2 separate regions of the Homo sapiens genome follow, and region 1 is linked to region 2. Evidence: promoter capture Hi-C in 16 types of primary human blood cells and fetal thymus (Javierre and others, 2016). All regions are on one chromosome and are shown on one strand. The core of a region is centred on a gene start or on the middle of the fragment in contact, and the rest is flanking DNA. Distances in the headings are between cores, read along the strand shown. Region 1 has its middle 27 kb from the start of LINC02476. Region 2 holds the start of KCND2 (potassium voltage-gated channel subfamily D member 2).

What was found. Contacts are between HindIII fragments. The CHiCAGO score rates a contact against its expected background, and 5 or more counts as called.
Region 1: a fragment that was not itself captured here is called in contact with the fragment with the promoter of KCND2 in region 2 in 3 of 17 cell types (megakaryocytes, M2 macrophages and M0 macrophages); the score reaches 7.1 in megakaryocytes.

Annotation. Positions count from the first base shown.
Region 1 is chr7:119,932,009-119,936,438 of GRCh38, reverse strand. No RefSeq gene overlaps it. Among named protein-coding and RNA genes, the nearest start is that of LINC02476, 27 kb to the right of the region's middle. The HindIII fragment of the contact is 889 bases long and covers 2,078-2,966 here.
Region 2 is chr7:120,270,269-120,274,692 of GRCh38, reverse strand. It overlaps KCND2 (potassium voltage-gated channel subfamily D member 2), which reads right to left and starts at 1,518. Exons shown (of 6, transcript NM_012281.3): 1 at 1-1,518. The coding sequence starts at 60. RefSeq lists an enhancer at 753-822 and silencers at 1,263-1,412, 2,332-2,431. The HindIII fragment of the contact is 3,977 bases long and covers 1-1,692 here.

The DNA of each region.
Region 1 (4,430 bases), core at 1,273-3,772, 340 kb after region 2:
AAATATTGGGATTATATTTCCATGAGTTTTGGTAACTTTTCAACAGCTAGGAGTCTTGGCACCAGAAAAATAATTAGCATCACCCAGATGTAGCTCTATCAACTATTAGACTATTCTGTAGCAATATTTTTTTCTAAAAATTTTGAGCAGATAATTGGAAATTAAAATCAGGCATTAAGAGAATAACAGTTTTTATTTCAAAGCTATTTGCTACCCTTCTGCCTTCTACCCTCTGCATTTTACATACTTATAAATCTGAAATGAAAGCATTTTCTTTGGTTAAAACCATATTCTCTTTTAAAAGCAACATTTTGGAGTTTTATGAGAGTAATTAAAATTGAGAAGCTCGATGATATCCAAACCTGAACTGTTTTGAAAAATATAAATGATGTACTTAATATGTGTAATTGCTAATTTATATTTCTTGTTCTAAAACTGGTTATTAAACAATCATGCAGAAACAAAATATAATTGACGTCTTTTAGGATGAGTTATTTTTTCAAACAATTTAAAAGTATGGTTATAGTTATAGACCAACATGTAAGCAATTATGAGATTTATGAATCTACTGACAATTCTCTAGCTTCAACTCATTTATATGTTGATGAAGCTTACTAATGTTTTGGAACAATCAAACTGATAGTTATATTACTTAAAGGAAACAACTTATTACTAAACAGATTTTATACTATCATTAATTCTTAATCACTTGAAATGACAACTGAATATTTTTAGTCCCTAAAAATATAACCAAAGCTATTATGTTATTTTAGATAGGATACAGAAGTAATCTAAGGATTCATTTCCGAAATACTGCCATCTTGTGGTATTCTTCACAGAACATCTAACAGTCATTTATGATACGGACTTTGGGTAAAAACAAGAAGGGTACTCTAATGACATAAATAGACCCAAATGAATACCGTGGAAACCTAGAGAGTGAAAATAATCTTTATCTTAAGAACTATGAAAGATCCCCTTAGTATTCATCTGGATGAGGAGTTCCAATACAATATTTTATAAGCAAAAAGAGATAATTTATCTTATTTGTCTATACATTTCTTAATAGAAAATAATTCAAGGAGAAAGTGAATCAATACTAATTTTCTCTCTGGAGAGAAAATACTGTTTTGTCTCAATCCAATTCATTTCAATACAACTACTCACTGAGCATTTTTAATAGAAGGTTTACACATTATTTGGCAACAAACACAGGGCTGTGACTACTCTTTGATTTCCTTTTGGGTCTTTATGACCCAGGTCTCATTTGTGTTATGACTTGTATTATAAAGTTCCAGGGGTTGTGCCTTATTTTTACACCGTTGAGTTGTTTGGCGCTCAGGGTCATCTGAATTATCCTCACTCTCTTCAGCGACAGAATACAGACCTGCAACAGATATGGAAATACACCTCTTAGCTTATAATCTATTTTTTTCACTGAAATGTAATTATTTAATTGTTTACTTATTCACTAGTTTGACCCCTAATTTAGTGCAACTCTTTCCAAAAGCAAAATTTACCACCAATAAAGATGGATAAAGGATATTTGACATGATTTGAAGATCACTTCAAAAATTCTTTAGAAGTTATTGGCAAAACTGCAATCTTCATTTGGATCTATAATCTCTGTTATATTAACTCATTAAGTCAAATGATCAATCATGCTATTTTATGGTTTTATTTTTAGGGGTTCATTAGTTACACAAACATTAAATAAAGATAATGAAGCTATTATAAAACTTAGGGAAAGAGTAGTTTCATGGTCCTTTGCACTGAAAGGTTGCCTAGATCTCTAGTAATGCACCAAAAGCATTTGATAAATTGTGAACATGAGAACAATGTCTGTAAACACTTTCAAGATCAGCTTAGGCGTCCTCTGGTAACTGAAGCAGAAGGAAGCATTTTCAAAGTGATGCCAGAGCAAAATGCCCTTAAGCTTTGAGTATTGAAGCAGTTTTCACACAATAAAAGAAAAACTCCTTATGAGGCAACTTTGCCCTTGCTCTCAAGACACTCTTATTTTCTGCAGCAGAAATTAATGTGAATACTATCAATGAACCCAACCTTGTAATAAGCTTTGCTTATATCTTTGGCAAATGTTTTGTGTTTCTCTGCATCCTGGTCCAAAAATTTCAAGTGCTTTTACTTTCCATGATGAGATATTAACTATAGAGAAACTTCAGTATTTTCCTTCAGGACTGAATCCCTCACCCCGTGGCATAATCAAGAATATTGCTGCCCTTCCTCTTTAAGTCTTTAAATACTCAATTTCAAATTCAAAGTAATCAATTTTAATAGGAGGAAAAAGCATAATGGTTTTGAATAAGTACCAGTGCTGATATGGCAAGACTAAAATAATCTATTTTATTTCATGTATGAGTGATATCTCCATAAATGCCCATTATTGTTAATAATTTAGTTCAAGATACCATTTGAATGTAATCTACAACATGAAAGAAAAATAATTTTTATACATTAAAAACTCCAGGATGATTAGAAATGCCAAAATGAAAAGAATCTTGGCAAATATGCCACCTAAAAGCATAATTATTTTTCAAATAGATAGTAAAACCGATATGCATATGACATTAAATATATAACTCATGCACATGGTATTAAATACATAGGTGAAAAGACACCTTATTATATTATAGTGCTCTTCAATACAAGTTCTCATTGCACCTAAAAACTTTCTATACTAATTATATTACCATAAAAAATTACAGATTGACTTAAATGCCCAATACTTCCAGTAAGCATGACGATTTTAAAGTAATTTAAATCTCTCAGTGCAATTCTTTTTGAAATATATGTATATATTAACTATTCGATATTTGAACACATGTCGCCATAAGTTCTTAAAAATATGTATTTATATGCATAAACAAGCATGTTTTATAGAAGAGAAGTGCTTCTGAATGTAAAACCAAGAAGACACTTAAAACCATATGTATTTGACTAAAGCTTAAGAAGGACTGAAATATGCTCTTAAATTATTAGACTGTATTTATTATTTTTTTAGACATAATGAAAATTTTTTGCTGAATTCTATCCTTGTCACTTGTTTGTGACAAGTTGTGTTTATTCCTGATTTATTTAAATATTGAGCCTGTCTTTCTTTGCCAAGGGATTTCTAGATTTTAGCTTATATATTTTTCATCCTTTTCTTTATCCCAATCTTTGCCTGAAACAGCATTTTTCAAATTTTGCATTTTTCCTTAAGTACAAACCTTTTTTATACTGCTTATTTTTAGCATTTTTTGTATTTTAATATCATTCAAATGGCAAACACTATGTTGCTTCAAATGAAAAAAAATTATCATGTAAACAATTTGCTATATATTATTAATATTTTATATATTTAACATTGTTAATGACAAGCTATTGGTTTGATAATGCTTTCCTATAAGCAAGGAAGGAGCTTTTGCATGTTCTAATTATAAGAAAAATGCTATTAATTCCATTGATAACTATTAATATGATTCAAATGTTAACATAAATGTTATGTGTTGTATAGCATCGATTATGTTGAACAGACATAAATTCACTTAGTCATTAATCTAAAACAACTATCAGTGAATATTAATCATTATATAGTGGATAAGAGTAGCTAATATAATTAGGCATATGATAGAATTAAGTTATTTTCTAATACCCTTTACTGCCTTGTATAACTTAGTAATAAATCTAACAAACAAGCAAACTAAGTTGAATTTTTCAAGATTTAATCAAACTGGACATAATCATTATTGTTACATTTCTGTTATTCTAGCTAATTTAAATTTCCTTTTGTCCCCCTCATTTTTTTTAATTAGTCTAGACAACGGCCTAGATATATTAACATTACAATAATTCTGCAAATTAATCTATATGGCATGTTTTTACCTTTATCTTCCCAATAGGAATGAAAGAATAATATGTGTGTGTGTGTGTGTGTGTGTGTGTGTGTGTGTGTGTGTGTGTGTGTTGAGTTTCTGTTTATAAGGTATCTGGATGATACCTTATAAACATTATTCTTTTAATGAGGTTCTATAAAAATCAAAATACAGGAACCAATATATGACATAATTTGCATTGGAGAAAATGAAATCAATAATGTGGGAGTTAAAACTGAGAAAATGCCCTAGAATGACAAGTCAAAGTATAACAAAAGAAAAGATGATAAGAAATCTAAAACATGTGTGTAGTAAATATCATAAGTAATTAGAACTTTACAGAATAAATATCTTTAATTTTTGCCCCTTCAAACGAGTTTTCCTGAGTATACATTTCCTGTCTCTTGATGACATCTTGGGCTTATTCTTAAGTTGTCTATTCACGTACACTAATAAGAATGATATCCCTCTAATAATCAAAATTCACTTTGTAATTTAAAACGTTCACTGCAGTCTGAACCATCAGTTCGATCACATACATATCCAACTCAATGC
Region 2 (4,424 bases), core at 269-2,768:
CATCCACCCGATAGCCGCTGCCCTTGCAAAAGGCAGCCACGCTGCCACCCCCGCCGCCATGATTACTTGAAGCGGAAGGAAGAAGGGTAACGAGGCGTCTACAATGGGTCACCGAAGCAGCCAAAAGTCACCCACTTCCTCCAGTCAAGCAAAGTACTAGTGAGAAACGTGGTCCAGAGGTGTAACTCTTATTCCAAGATAGGGCTCCTGGTAAAGTCACAGTTCTCAGAAGGGCAACTTTCCCTCCAAGACAGGTATTTGGAATAATGGCAACAAAATACAACGTCCTAACAATCACCCTCAACAGAACCCAGCCAAATCTCTTCCTGCAGGTGGGCTAGGCCACCCTCTGGCACAAATAAGCACACAGGTGCAGCCGTTTCTTCAAACAGGTGTTTTTGATTTCTCCCCGGCACAGTCTGGATAATATAGGGTCAGTATGTGGAGTGTAGGATAGAGAAGACGAACGAGAGTCACCCAATAGAATTCTTTCGACGAATTAGGGAACCCTTACACCTACCCTTCTCACTCTTTCAAACCTTCCTTTCCAAGTAGCCCTTCCCGCCAAAGGAGTCTCAAAAAGGCGACCTGTTGTTGTAGCTCAGGAGATGCGGTCACAGCCGCTGCCCCACGTCTCTCTTTGGGGGTCCAGCTGCTGCTGCCTCTACTCCTCGGGCTGTATTTGCAGAGATGGAGGTGATGTGCAGTGGTTACGGTGGGGGGCGTTAATAGAGATTCTCCTCCCCCACGTCTACAAACACCCTCTGTGTCTGCCAAAAGCGTTCGCCCAATCGCCCCTTCACTCTCTTTTCAAGTTCAGCTCAGGTGCAGTGTGACAGTTACAGAGCTCAGGAGCTGGCAGCCGCCGCCGCCGTGGCGGCAGCAGCATCTGCTTCCGCGCAGAACGCGCCGCTCCCGCGGTACATACCTGGCCAAGTGCGCGCCGGGGCTTAGTTGCATAGAGACTTTCTCCTCGCCGTGCACCCGGAAAGGGAAGAGGAGAGAAAGCAGCTCGCGAGCAGCCGAATCCGATGCGCCGAGAGAGCATAAATAAAGCTCAAGCGAGCTCTTCTTTCCCTTCCCCCATCCCTCCGTGCCTCCCTCCTCCTTTTCACCTTCCAAAAGCCAGGCGCAGGCGAGCAGAGCAGCAGCAACAAGTTCAAAAGGTGCGGGGGAGGCGAGAACGGAGGGGACTCGCTCCTGCCAACTTACTGCGGGGCCACTGTCGCGGGAGCCTGGCCAGCGCGGTGCGGGGCTGCGGGGCGGCGGGGCTGCGGGGCGGCCGGGCGGGCGGCGTTGGCGCGGTGGGGCCGGGGCCGGGGCCGGCACGGGCTCTCGTCCGAGCGCGGAGGCAGAAGGCGCTCGGCAGCGCGGGGGCGCGGGAGGGCTGCTAGCTGCTTCCCCGCCAGTGGGTGGTCCTGCATCTCCCCGGGCTCCCCGCGCTGCTCTGCTAGTGCGATCAATAAATAAGGAGAAAATAAATAAATAACCGCGCGCACGCCCCGCCACGCAGGTTAGGAAAGGCGTCTCCTGCCTTTCCCTCGGCTTGACCTTTCTCCGCCCCCGCCCCCTCGGGCTCCTCTCGCTCCACCCCAGCCACCCACCAACCCCGGCGCAAAATGTCACCGAGGGAGAGCATCCAGGTGGATCTGCTGGGGAGAAAAGCGAGCCTCGGATGAACAAAGGGAAGCTTCACGTGCTGGGCTGCGGTGGTTTGGTGGAGGAGAGGAGAAAGGGGACCCGTGCCTTGCTTCTGCCTCTCGAGTCCCGGTTCAAGGCGAGCGTGGGAAAATGGGGGGAAAGAGAGCGAGAGAAGCTGGGAAGGAGGGTGAGCGGAGCGGAATGCGCAGGAATTGGTTGTCTTCTGGGGGCGACTGGAAGGCAAGACCCGCAAAGCTCCGACGCGGAATTTTTAAGTGCATTTCCTCTTTCTGTTTTTATTTATTTTCAAAACCAGATTGTTAACGTTGCAGGGATTGATATGCCATCTGTCCAACTTGCCAAAAAATCAGAGACTCTCCTCGATCGAGGTCTTGACACAACTCCTTTTCCCGTCCTTTACGAATAACAGGGATGTGGAGCCCTTTTCTAAATGTCATCGTCAAGGGGCGTGCGTCTCTGAAAGTTTGCGTCCCCTTCATCCTCTCTGCGCATCACTGCGCATATTTAAAATAGTTAAAAGAGTTAAAGGTGTTCGTATGAGGGGTTACTGAGGTAGAGAGACACAGGAAAATTGTCGCTACCAACCTTTTTGTTTTTCGCGTACCCCGCCCCCGAGTCATTAGGAATCATCCTTAAAACCAAACGTAACACATACAAGCCACTAGATGGCGTGGATGGCGAGAAGTTAAATCTGCACCTAAGGTTTGGATGCTTTAGGAAGGTGAAGGATCAAAATTAACTGGTCCAACAGAGAGTCAGATCACATAAACATCCCCAAACCCCTTCGCTGCCACCCACCTTTTTTGTGTTTATGTGACATATACTACTTAGGCTTGAGTCTGCATTTGGATAGTTGTGGGATGAGATGTGGAGAGTTTCCTTTTGAAATTCCTTTGAAAATTAAATCTAGATTACTGAATCATCATCATCATAGTAATTAAGATCTTTGGCAATAATGAGGCTTCATCTGTATTGATGAAGAATAGTAGCCTAATTTCTACCTAAAAATTACTTTTCATGGCTTGGTTTGACTGCCCTTGGTTTGTAAAATAAGTGGACTGTGTGTTGTACTTTACGGAAATTGACTTTTAAGCCCTAGAGATTACAGGCATGATGTGTCAACCTTGAAAATTTGAAATGGGATACGTCAAAGAAAATATATAAACTAAAAAATGAGTATAGAAAATAACCAGAGAATTTAAAATATCCTTATCATGTACAGGATTTTCTGTAGAGATAAAAGGGTATTTTTTGTTTGTTTATTTGTTTACAGAATAGAGATTTAAGGAATCCTGTGTCAGTAGTAATGAAGTCAGAGCTAATGCACCATTTAAGTTTGAGGACAAGGAACTGAAGACACCTGCTCTTTATCTATTTGTTTAAGTGAAAGATGCTTGTTAACCAATCTATATAGCCTGCATACCTGAAAACAAACACACAAGCATGTTACCTGGAAAATGGAAATGAGGGGCTTACTACCAATTAATATAAGAAAACCAACCCCTCGTTAGTCCAAACAGTAAGGTGGCACTATGACAGGTGCTGGGCATGGAATCCAGAGGGTGGAGCGCCATGAATATTTAATCAATGCCAATAATGGCATGCTTTCCTGTAAAGATGGGGCGAGGAACCTAAATAGAGCCTTTAAAACTGTGTGGGAAACTGAATGCTTACAAATGTAAAAGTAGGAGCTTAACTCACAAAAGCCCCAAAGAAGCAAGAACATAATATGTACAGTTTTTAAGAAGGTACTGGGATCTGCCCTCCTGCATCTTCAACAAGCTTCTTGATATAGTGGAAAGAATGTGGGCTGAGAACTTAAACACATCTAAATTCAAAATCTTGCTTAAGAAATTACTTACTGGCTTTGTTTCATTTGGCAAATTACTTCTATGATTAGAAATTATAGATAATGAAATTTAACTTTTCAGGCCTGTCGTGAAGATGAAACAGGATCATACTTCTGAACACCAGTGAAATACTTAGCACATGAAGTGTACTCAATATTGGTTCTTTTTTATTGTAATGCATAATGCTAATGCAATTCATTTTATCCAGCCCGTATTTGGAATTCCCTTAGATACTTTCCATAGTTATGTATTGCTTAATGACAGGGATACATTCTGAGAAATGTGTCTTTAGGAGATTTCATCACTGTCTGAATATCATAGAGCGTACTTACACAAACTTAGGTGGTATAGCCTACTACACACCTATGCTATATGGTACAGCCTATTGCTCCTAGACTACAAACCTGCCATCATGTTACTGTACTGAACACTGTAAGCAATTTGTAACACAGTGGCAAGTATTTGAACCTCTAAACATATATATACACAGAAAAGTTGCAGTAAAAATACAGTATAAAATATTTTTAAGAACGGTACACCTTTATTTGGCACTTCCTATGAATGGAGCTTACAGAACTGGAAGTTTCTCTGGGTGATCAGTGAGTAAGTGGTGAATGAATGTGAAGGCATAGCACATTACTGTACACTTCTGTAGACTTTATAAACACTGTATATTTAGGCTATGCTAAATTTATTTTTAAAATCTTATTTTTCCTTCAATAATAAATTAACCTTAGCTTACTATCTTTTTTTACTTTAAAAACTTCAATTTTTAACTTTTTGACTCTTTTGTAATAACACTTAGCTTGAAACACAACACATTATACAGCTGTACAAAAAAATATTTTCTTTATATCCTTATTCTGTAAGTTTTCTTCTATTTTTGTACTTTTTTTGTTTTGTTTTGTTTTG